Regions from separate parts of the Homo sapiens genome. Here region 1 is linked to region 2. The links are contacts of gene promoters, found by promoter capture Hi-C in blood cells and fetal thymus (Javierre and others, 2016). All regions are on one chromosome and are shown on one strand. Each heading gives the region's core, a stretch centred on a gene start or on the middle of the fragment in contact. The rest is flanking DNA. Distances are from core to core; before and after follow the strand shown. Region 1 overlaps LRP4 (LDL receptor related protein 4). Region 2 holds the start of DDB2 (damage specific DNA binding protein 2).

Evidence for each region. Contacts are between HindIII fragments. The CHiCAGO score rates a contact against its expected background, and 5 or more counts as called.
Region 1: a fragment that was not itself captured here is called in contact with the fragment with the promoter of DDB2 in region 2 in 1 of 17 cell types (erythroblasts); the score reaches 5.1 in erythroblasts.

What each region holds. Positions count from the first base shown.
Region 1 is chr11:46,856,626-46,861,683 of GRCh38, reverse strand. LRP4 (LDL receptor related protein 4) reads left to right here. Exons shown (of 38, transcript NM_002334.4): 38 at 2,369-4,967. The coding sequence ends at 2,701. The region is part of intron 2 of LRP4-AS1 (LRP4 antisense RNA 1); the gene reads right to left. Among named protein-coding and RNA genes, the nearest start is that of LRP4-AS1, 13 kb to the right of the region's middle. The HindIII fragment of the contact is 414 bases long and covers 3,262-3,675 here.
Region 2 is chr11:47,212,894-47,217,743 of GRCh38, reverse strand. It overlaps DDB2 (damage specific DNA binding protein 2), which reads right to left and starts at 2,770. Exons shown (of 10, transcript NM_000107.3): 1 at 2,481-2,770; 2 at 1,272-1,408; 3 at 695-886. The coding sequence starts at 2,607. RefSeq lists enhancers at 2,438-2,717, 2,007-3,206, 3,048-3,287, 2,494-3,329, 3,330-4,166 and a silencer at 2,768-2,977. The HindIII fragment of the contact is 21,566 bases long and covers 1-4,850 here.

The sequences.
Region 1 (5,058 bases), core at 2,219-4,718, 360 kb after region 2:
TGTGGTGGCTTGTGCCTGTAGTCCCAGCTACACAGGAGGCTGAGGTAGGAGGATCACTTGAGCTCAGGAGTTGGAGGCTGCAGTGAGCTGTGATCATGCCACTACCCTCCAGCCTGGGTGACAATGAGACCCTGTCTCAAAAAAAAAAAAAAAAAAAAAAGTCCCATTTCCACAAGGAAACTAACTATACCTGGTATTTCAGATTTTCCTAATCCAATATAAGCCTTGTTTTTTTCCTAAAATCCTGTAACTCTTCATCAGAAGTTATTCCTTATGAAGATCCTCATCAGTCTACTTCTTTGGCCTATCTAGCACAGTCAGAACCTGCTCTCACACCTGCAGGGCTCTCATGTGTAATAAACACATTTCACATAATAATCATGTGCTTTCTGGATCCATGAATTCCCGTATTTAAATAGCTTCCACTACTTCTGGTTCAAGTTGGTGTTTGAAAAAAAAAATTGAAATTAAAAATTTTTTAAAAGCTTCTACTGCAGTCAAAACAGAATGTGCAGGGATGGCTTGTAGTTCTAGGAATGGTAGACCCCTCCCCAATATCTTTGAGAGAAAGACTCTTGAAGATTCTTGGGTTCCTGGAGTATCTGATGCTCCAGAAAAGAACCACAATGAAGGCCACAGGATAGCAATGAAAATAGTGTGACCTCTTTCTTCTGTTGTGTGTTTCTTCCTCAGCAGCTCTTTCACCCCTCTGATAGTCTTTCACCTTTTCTCTTCTGATTTCCTCTTGATTTCAGGTACCTGTTGCTGTGTGTTTGTAGAGGGAGTGGTGTTTCCCAAATTGCAAGTGCCATATCCCCCACCTCTCCCTAACTTACCCAGCGTGTCTCTTAATTAAGACATTGAGTGGTCTGCATCTTATACTAATTTCATCTTGGAGGGTGTGCTGGGTGAACAGACATCTGTGTGTTTGCTTGTGTGCTATGTCCCACTCTGCATGGCTGAGGGGACTGTCACTCTCAGAGGGCAGGGACCATGTTTTATATTGTATAATCATCAAAGCACCTAGCACAGTCTTCTGCTTAACATAGGGGCTCAGTAAATATCTGTGGAATTGAATTGTTACAAAAATAGAGCCACAGCCACAGTTGCAGAACTCTTGGCAGGAATACTATCCCAGGGACAGAACCCAAGATGATCCATTTTCTTCTAGCAGTGGTGGTATGTCGGTTGGTATACCCCAGCAGCCAGGAGTGAGGCTGCTCTTTGAAGAAGCCATAAAGGGAGAGGCCCGAGCAGAACTCCAGGCTGTGCCTGGAAGAGTCCCAGGTTTTGCTTGGGAATGGTCCCAGGACTCATGGCAGCAGAGCGAGAGTAACCTCCCAAAAAAGGTTATAAGTTGCAGGACCCCACTATATTGACGTTTAGGACCCAGATAAGAAGATTTCCTTTTTTTTAGTTTTTTTTCTTTCTTTCTTTCTTTTTTTTTTTTTAATGGAATCTTGCTCTGTCACCCAGGCTGGAGTGCAGTGGCATGATCTTGGCTCACTGTAACCTCAGCCTCCGGAGTTCAAGGGATTCTCCTGCCTCAGCCTCCCAAATAGCTGGGATTACAGGCACCCGCCACCAAACCCAGCTGATTTTTGTATTTTTAGTAGAGATGGGGTTTCACCATGTTGGCCAGGCTAGTCTCGAACTCCTGAACTCAAGTGATCTGCCCGCCTGGGCCTCCCAAAGTGCTGGGATTACAGGTGTAAGCCACCACGCCCGGCCAGATAAGAGGATTTTCTAGAGTCCCCTGTCTTACCTCCCAAGTTTTCTCCTTAACAAAATTAGAAAAAAGAGATACAAACTAGCACCCGAAGTAGCTTAAAATCCTGAATAAATGTACATTTAATTGCTCTTGCCAATTGCTTTTGATGATTTATATCAGCATGATGTCCCATTAATAAACCACAGTAACAATGTAACATAGCTAACATGTTATAGTGCATCTTGTGTCAAGCTCCCTGATAACTGCATTCCATGTATCATCTCATTTAAGGTGACAGCAGTTGGTTGTGAGGTGTGGATACTGTTACTCTCCTCACACTGCAGAGTCTTAAGAGACTGAGTTTTAGAAATGTGAAATAATTTGCCTAAGGTGACAAAGCCAGTGAGTGGCTGCTGCAGGACCGGAAGCCATGGTTTTCCCTCCTCCTGTATGGTAATGGTAATAATTATCACAGCTGCCTCTCCCCTTTTAGGCTAGGCCTCATACACTTGTCTTAATCACATTTCCCCATTTGTTTGTGGGATTTTTGTGCGCTTCACTCCTACTCTTACCCCATCCACTTCCTTTTTCAGTTTACCATGGGATCCTTTGTAGAAGGCCAACTGACTGACCATATCTGCCCACTCTCCACCCTAGGGAGGGCCTGACCATAACTACACCAAGGAGAAGATCAAGATCGTAGAGGGAATCTGCCTCCTGTCTGGGGATGATGCTGAGTGGGATGACCTCAAGCAACTGCGAAGCTCACGGGGGGGCCTCCTCCGGGATCATGTATGCATGAAGACAGACACGGTGTCCATCCAGGCCAGCTCTGGCTCCCTGGATGACACAGAGACGGAGCAGCTGTTACAGGAAGAGCAGTCTGAGTGTAGCAGCGTCCATACTGCAGCCACTCCAGAAAGACGAGGCTCTCTGCCAGACACGGGCTGGAAACATGAACGCAAGCTCTCCTCAGAGAGCCAGGTCTAAATGCCCACATTCTCTTCCCTGCCTGCCTGTTCCTTCTCCTTTATGGACGTCTAGTCCTTGTGCTCGCTTACACCGCAGGCCCCGCTTCTGTGTGCTTGTCCTCCTCCTCCTCCCACCCCATAACTGTTCCTAAGCCTTCACCGGAGCTGTTTACCACGTGAGTCCATAACTACCTGTGCACAAGAAATGATGGCACATCACGAGAATTTAGACCTGGATTTTACCATGAACCTCACATCTTGTACTCCATCCTGGGCCCCCTGAAACTGCTTATTCGTGATTCCTCACCAGCGTAGAGCTCCACCTCCCCTTTCCCCAGTACCCTCAGTGCCTGCTTCTCAGTGCTGATGCAGCTGATGACCCAGGACTGCGCTCTGCCCCATCACAGCCAGCATGACTGCTTCTCTGAGAGAACTTGCCCATCAGGGGCTGGGACATGGGGGTGTGGGTAAAGACAGGGATGAAGGATAGAGGCTGAGAGAAGAAGGAAGAATCAGCCCAGCAGGTATGGGCATCTGGGAAACCTCCAGCCTCAAGTGTGTTAGTAACATGAAAAAGCTTTGGGGGGTAGTTGGATCTGGGTGTCTGGTCCATTGCTGGCAGTGGACATTATTCTTGCCCTAAGAGACACTGCCTTTTCAGCAGCAGATACTGGTGAGATGGGGGTGGCTCAGGCTGTTCTTCCTCCTCCTAGAATGTCTGGAGCTGTTTCTACATTCAGATAACTGGGTCCCCTATCACAAGGCTACTGGCTAATAGGAATTCCCTCCTGGTGCCACCACTGGCCAGTACCTTTCCTAAGTCTTTGCTCAAATTAACCAGGTTGTGAGCCAGTGGCTTGAGTGAATGTTAGGCCTTGGGGGCTGAGTCTCTGAAAAGTCTAAGAAGCTCTGCCTAGACCAAATATGGTATACCTCCTGACCCCTCTCTCCCTCATGTCCTGGGATTCTGGGGAAGAGACCTAGAAACAAGCTTTCAAAGAAAAACCAGAAGTTGTCATAAATGGTCAGAAAGAACGATCAGGTTGGAGACTTGGGAAACCCAGGGCCTAAAGAGAAGTATCCATGAGGGTCAAACTTCCTGTTGAACTTCCTATGTTCTTTCTCAAGTGCTCAGGGATCTAAGTTAGTGGACAGCAAGCCTGTGGCTACGGGGTGGTGATGTTCCTCTTCCAGCTGTCCCCTCAGCTAAGGGGCTTAGTTTCCATGTGGGATGCCATCACTTGGTTCATGCTCATTCACACAAAGGGCACGTGTCTCAGCCTGGTATCAGGGAAATTGAGACTTATTTTTGCCCTAAAACGTCTCCCTAGCTGTTCTTCGTGGGGTTTTTTTGTTTGTTTTTTTGCCTAATTTGCTTTTTCTGACCAAGCCTTGTGGCACCAGCAATCTCCAAAGTCCTGTGGTGGGAGGGCTGAATAAATAAAAATACAAAGAGGTGGGTAAGGAGTAGGAAGGTAGAGAGCACCACTGATGAGGCCCTCCTAGCCCATGGCAGACCCAGACCTCTTCTCCCCCAGGAATTAGAAGTGGCAGGAGAGAACAACAGGGGCTGGGAATGGAGGGGAGAATTTCTAGGGGAAGTTTCCTGAGTTGAAACTTCTCCTGTGGTTACTGGTATTGAGAAATCAGCTACCAAAGTGAAAAAGGACAAGATCAATTCTTTTCTAGTCAGTTCTAAGACTGCTAGAGAGAGATACCAGGCCCTTAGCCTTGCTCTCAGTAGCGTCAGCCCCAGTTCTGAGCCTCCCCACATTACACTTAACAAGCAGTAAAGGAGTGAGCACTTTGGGTCCTTAGACTCACGTCTGGGGAGGAAGAGCAAGTAGAAAAGTGGCATTTTCTTGATTGGAAAGGGGGAAGGATCTTATTGCACTTGGGCTGTTCAGAATGTAGAAAGGACATATTTGAGGAAGTATCTATTTGAGCACTGATTTACTCTGTAAAAAGCAAAATCTCTCTGTCCTAAACTAATGGAAGCGATTCTCCCATGCTCATGTGTAATGGTTTTAACGTTACTCACTGGAGAGATTGGACTTTCTGGAGTTATTTAACCACTATGTTCAGTATTTTAGGACTTTATGATAATTTAATATAAATTTAGCTTTTCTTAATCACCTTGCCTGGCTTGGAGTCATGACTAATCCTGCACCTGCTCTGTCTGGCAGACCCATGCTGTGGAAAACCTGCTTACAGACATCACTTTTAAGTCCTTTGTGGATGTGGGCACAGTGAAGAGCAATAAAGAGTGTGAGGTTCCTGCTGGAGTTTTCAGCTCATCTGGAGAAGACAGGTCGAGGCCAGAGTTCCTTGACTGATGAAACCTTTATTTCCTCTGGAAGAGGAATGGTAGATGGG
Region 2 (4,850 bases), core at 1,521-4,020:
AATTTTTTGTATCTTTAGTAGAGACGGGGTTTCACCATGTTGGCCAGGATGGTCTCCATCTCTTGACCTCGTGGTCAGCCCACCTTGGCCTCCCAAAGTGCTAGGATTACAGGCCTGAGCCACTGCGCCCAGCCCAGAAGGGGCTTCAATTCTATGGGTGATCAATAGTCTATATCTTCTAGTATTTTAAGGACAGGCATTAGAAAAATATATATCATCATCATTTACGTATTTGAAAATGCCCACAGTTAATTTTGATCCCAGTCCTCTTCCTGATGATTACTGGATGACATCAATATTCCTTTCATGCCTTCAACAAACACTCCTTATTTTTATTTTCTTTTATTATTATTATTATTATTATTTTGAGATGGAGTTTCACTCTTGTTGCCCAGGCTGGAGTGTAATGGTGCAATCTTGGCTCACTGCAACCTCTGCCTCCCGGGTTCAAGCAATTCTCCTGCCTCAGCCTCCTGAGTAGCTGGGATTATAGGCGCCTGCCACCACACCCAGCTAATTTTTGTATTTTTAGTAGAGACGGGGTTTCACCATGTTGGCCAGGCTGGTCTCAAACTCCATACCTCAGGTGATCCACCCACCTTGGCCTCCCAAAGTGCTGGGATTACAGGTGCGAACCACTGCACCCAGCCAACAAACACTTCTTTAGCACGACCTGGCATGGGGAACTGCTCACCCCTTTGATGAAGGTGGGTTTGTCCTTGATGCCAAAATTCCAGAGCATGATATCTCCCCCTTTGGAACCCACAGCCACGGTGCTGGGGTGAGTTGGGTGCCACGCCAAGGATGTAGCCCTCCTGTCAAAGGGGGCAGCCTTTTGTAATATCCGGTAAGAATCCAGAGTGTGCAAAAAGGACTGCTGGAGCCCCTGCCACAGAGAGAAATGAATTAGGTTGAATTAAAACCCAAGTTCTGGGTAAACTGCCAATCTCTGCCTCCTTCATGGATGAGCCCTAGATCCAAGTCCTCCCACCAAAGGAAAGCTAACTGCCTGCCCTGTGCATGAAAATATTTGCAATGTACACGAACGAATAATCTTGGAAAGCAAAAGGGGCAGAGTGCATTCCAGCTGGGACCTTTACAACATAAGACATTTTTTACCTGGCTGAGTGCCCAGTAGGCCAGTCACCACAGTCTGGGTGATCGGACCACTCTGACAAGCTGGTGAACCAAGCCATCATCTAATTTGGGAGCATGCAATAGTAAAAATGCACGTGTAAACCCTTGAGGACTTGAGGCAAAAAATGCCTTACCTGCTGGACAGATGGCCAGGAAGCTCTGCCCAGCTTATGCTGGTGGAGGGTCCTGACGATGCTGCGGCATGGTGGCAGGATCTGTGGGCCAGCCAGCCCCACCCAGAGGCAGTCTGAGTCACATCTTCTGCTAGGACCTGCCAAGCAGAACAGACATATTTTCCTCTCCAATCTCACGAAAGGTTTTTCTGCTGAATTCCCCGAAAGGAAGCCTTGTTTCATTCGGCACGGTTAATCTCTGTCTCATCACCTCCTGCGGCCTTTCCATGTCTGTGTGGTCTCAACGAGCACCAGAAATAAAAAAATGAGTGAGGATTTGGCCCCTTCCCCAAAACACTCCCACAAACAGTAAGTCTGAAGTGAAAGTAAATACAGTCGTGCAGGGTTCCTGAGACCCCAGCCAAAGAAACACACAAGGATAAAGTACAATGCAGAACTCTTCCCAGTTTGGGCTGCAAAACTCGAGATGGGACTGGGTCACAATTTTATAAATCACATATAATGCACAATAAAAAGATTTTAGGGCAGCATGGCAGAAGTCACCGTTTAGGAAAAGAAGGAATAGGAAGGCCTGGAAATGCTCTTAACTAGGTTACTTCTGGGGAGGTAAGTGAAATTAGAATAGCAATAAAGCAACAACTCCTGATCACCAAACTGTATTTGAGGACCCAATCACTATAGGTCCGACGTCTTGACAACCAATTCTTTCTTCTCATGGACAAAAACCACTTGATTAACAAGCCCCAGCTCGTTTTTGAGTGTCTCGAAACTCCTTATAGCCCCAGGTTCAAGCCCCAGTAAACCTCAGAGAATGAGCTTTCTAAGGAGGAAGGAATTGGGGGCTCTCACAACTGACCACCGAGGACGTGCAGCTAACAAGCGTGACTATGAAATCCAGCACACACAGCGCCAGGAAAGGTAGGATTCTCTGAAGCCGTCCTAACTGTGCAAGAACCCTGATACGAACAAGGAATCTGACAAGTCCGTGTGTCTGTTGTTACGGAGCTCATCTGCTTCCTGTTACCTAGCGGGAGAGGTGTTGAAACCTAAACACTCTGGTGTCAAAGGACCTGCAGGTAGAATGCACAGCCGGAGGCACCCGTGACCTGCGCGGGCCTCGGGAGCCTCGGAGCACCCATCCCCCGCTGCAGCCTCCTGCGCGAGCACCCTAAAAGGCGGAAATATTCAAGCAGCAGGCACAGGCAGTACCGGAGCCCTTCGCACAGAGCTTCTTGGCCTCGGGCTCCAGCTCCAGGGGACTCCTGCTCCTCTTGTTCCTGGGGCGTAATACAATCTCGGAGGTCTTCTGGGTTTCTGGGCGTTTCTTGGGAGCCATCGCGTCCTCCGTGTGAAGGGGTACTGTGCTCTATGCGAAGATCATGGAGGGAGGATTGAGAGGCCTCTGGGGAGAAACAAGGCGGGGACTACAAAACTGCGGGGCCACAGGTAGCCGAGCTAAGCCAACTTCCCGCCAAACATGCCCAGGGCTTGTTCAAACCAGCTTGGAGCTCCGGCCCCACCCGTCTCGGAGACCCCGCCCCTTCCTGGAAGGCGGGGGCGCGGGGAGGGGGTGGTGCCAAGGGGCGGTGCCAGCGCTCCCGGGAGGGGCGGGAACTGCGCCAGGGCCAGTGCCAGCCCGGGTCAGCTGACCTCCCTGGAGCAAAGATGGTCCCCGGCTTTATGGATTTTTTTTTTTTTTTTAGCAACAGGGTCTGGCTCTGTCGCTCACTCTGGAGGGCAGTGGGGCGATCATAGCTCAGTGCAGCCTCCACCTCCTGGGCTCAAGCGATCCTCCCACCTCAGCCTCCTAAGTAGATGGGACTACAAGCGTACGCCACCACGCCCGGCTAATTTCTCTCTCTCTCTCTCTTTTTTTCTTTTTCTGGAGAGACGGGGTCTCGCTTTGTTGTCCGGGCCGGTCTTTAACTCCTGGGCTTAAGCGATCATCCAGCCTTGACTTCCTGACACGAACCCTCCTCAAACGCGGCGCTGCCAGGCCTCTGCGGGTCCGGGGAGGAGGCCCGGTGCCAGCCAAGGCTCTGTCTCCCGCCTTGCAATTGGTGATGACGCCCGCTCGGGCTTTGGGATTGGCTGGTCCCTACAGGGTGTAGTTGGGGAGTGGCGGCTTTGTAGAGAGCTAGTGCCTTTCCTAAGTTAGAAGCTGGGCTCTACCAGCGGTCAGCTTTGCAGTCGGATTCCAGAAACTACAGTCCCATCGAATCCAAGCTGCTTCTCTGTGAAGGGAGAATGATTGGAACTCCTTGCCTTTTTTTTTTTTTTTTTTTTTTTTTCCTAGAGGCAGTGTCTCTCTTCCGTTACCCAGGCTGGAGTGCAGTGATGTAATCACAGCTCACTGCAGCCTTGACCTCAAGTTTCACTGATCCTCCCACCTCAGCCTCCCAAGTAGGCTTGCAGACCTGTATCCCCAAGCCTAATTTTTTTATTTTTATTTTTGTAGAGACAAGGTCTTGCTATGTTTCCCACGTTGGTCTGGACCTCCTGGGCTCAAGTGATCCTCCTGCCTCTGCCTCCCAAAGTGCTGGGATTACAGGCATGAGCCACCGTGTCTGGTTCTCACTGCTCTTTTATTTGTTTGGTCGTTGGCTGTTTTTATTTTTTCTTTCTTTCTTTCTCTCTTTCTTTTTTTTTTTTTTTTTTTTGAGACAGGGCCTCTCTCTGTCACCCAGGCTGGAGTGCAGTGGCAGGATGTGGGCTCAATGCAGGCTGGACTTCCTGGACATCGATCCTCCCACCTCAGCCTCCCGAGTAGCTGGGACTACAGGTGCGCGCCGCAACACTCAGCTAATTTTTGCATTTTTTGTAGAGACAGAGTCTCCCTAAGTTGCCTAGGCTGGTCTAGAACTCCTGGCATCCATCCACCTCGGTCTGCCAAAGTGCTGAGATTACAGGTGTGAGCCACTGTGCCCAGCCTCCTCACTGCTTTTTTTTTTTTTTTTTTTTTGAGACGGAGTCTCACTCTGTTGCCCAGGCCGGAGTGCAGTGGCACAATCTCGGCTCACTGCAATCTCCGCCTCCCGGGTTCAAGCGATTCCCCTGCCTCAGTCTCCGGAGCAGCTGGGACTAGAGGCACACACCACCACGCCTGACTAATTTTTTGTATTTTAGTAGAGACAGGGTTTCACCATGTTGGCCAGGATGGTCTCGATCTTCTGACCTTGTGATCTGCCTGCCTCGGCCTCCCAAAATGCTGGGATTATAGGCGTGAGCCACCATGCCCAGCCTCTTGGCCTCTCACTGCTTTTAACTAAGACTTGCCTAACCTGTTGGGTGTCCACCTAGGAGCAGCCTGGGACGTGATGGGCCAGAGGGCGTGCAGCCAGCGGTACTTAGAACTCCTACGCCCTCGCTTCAGCCAAAGTCCAAGTCTTGAAGGTTCACAGGTGAGGCCGCGCTGTCCTGCCTAGCCTGAGAAGAGACAGTTTGGATGCACCCTAGTTTCTGCGAAGAGGCAGGCAGGAGTTGGGCTTACTCAGGCATTGCTGGGCCTTTCCTCCACCCACTAAGCCCCGTGCCTGACAGTTTGTGGGGGTGGGAGGAGATATACAAAAATGCATTAAT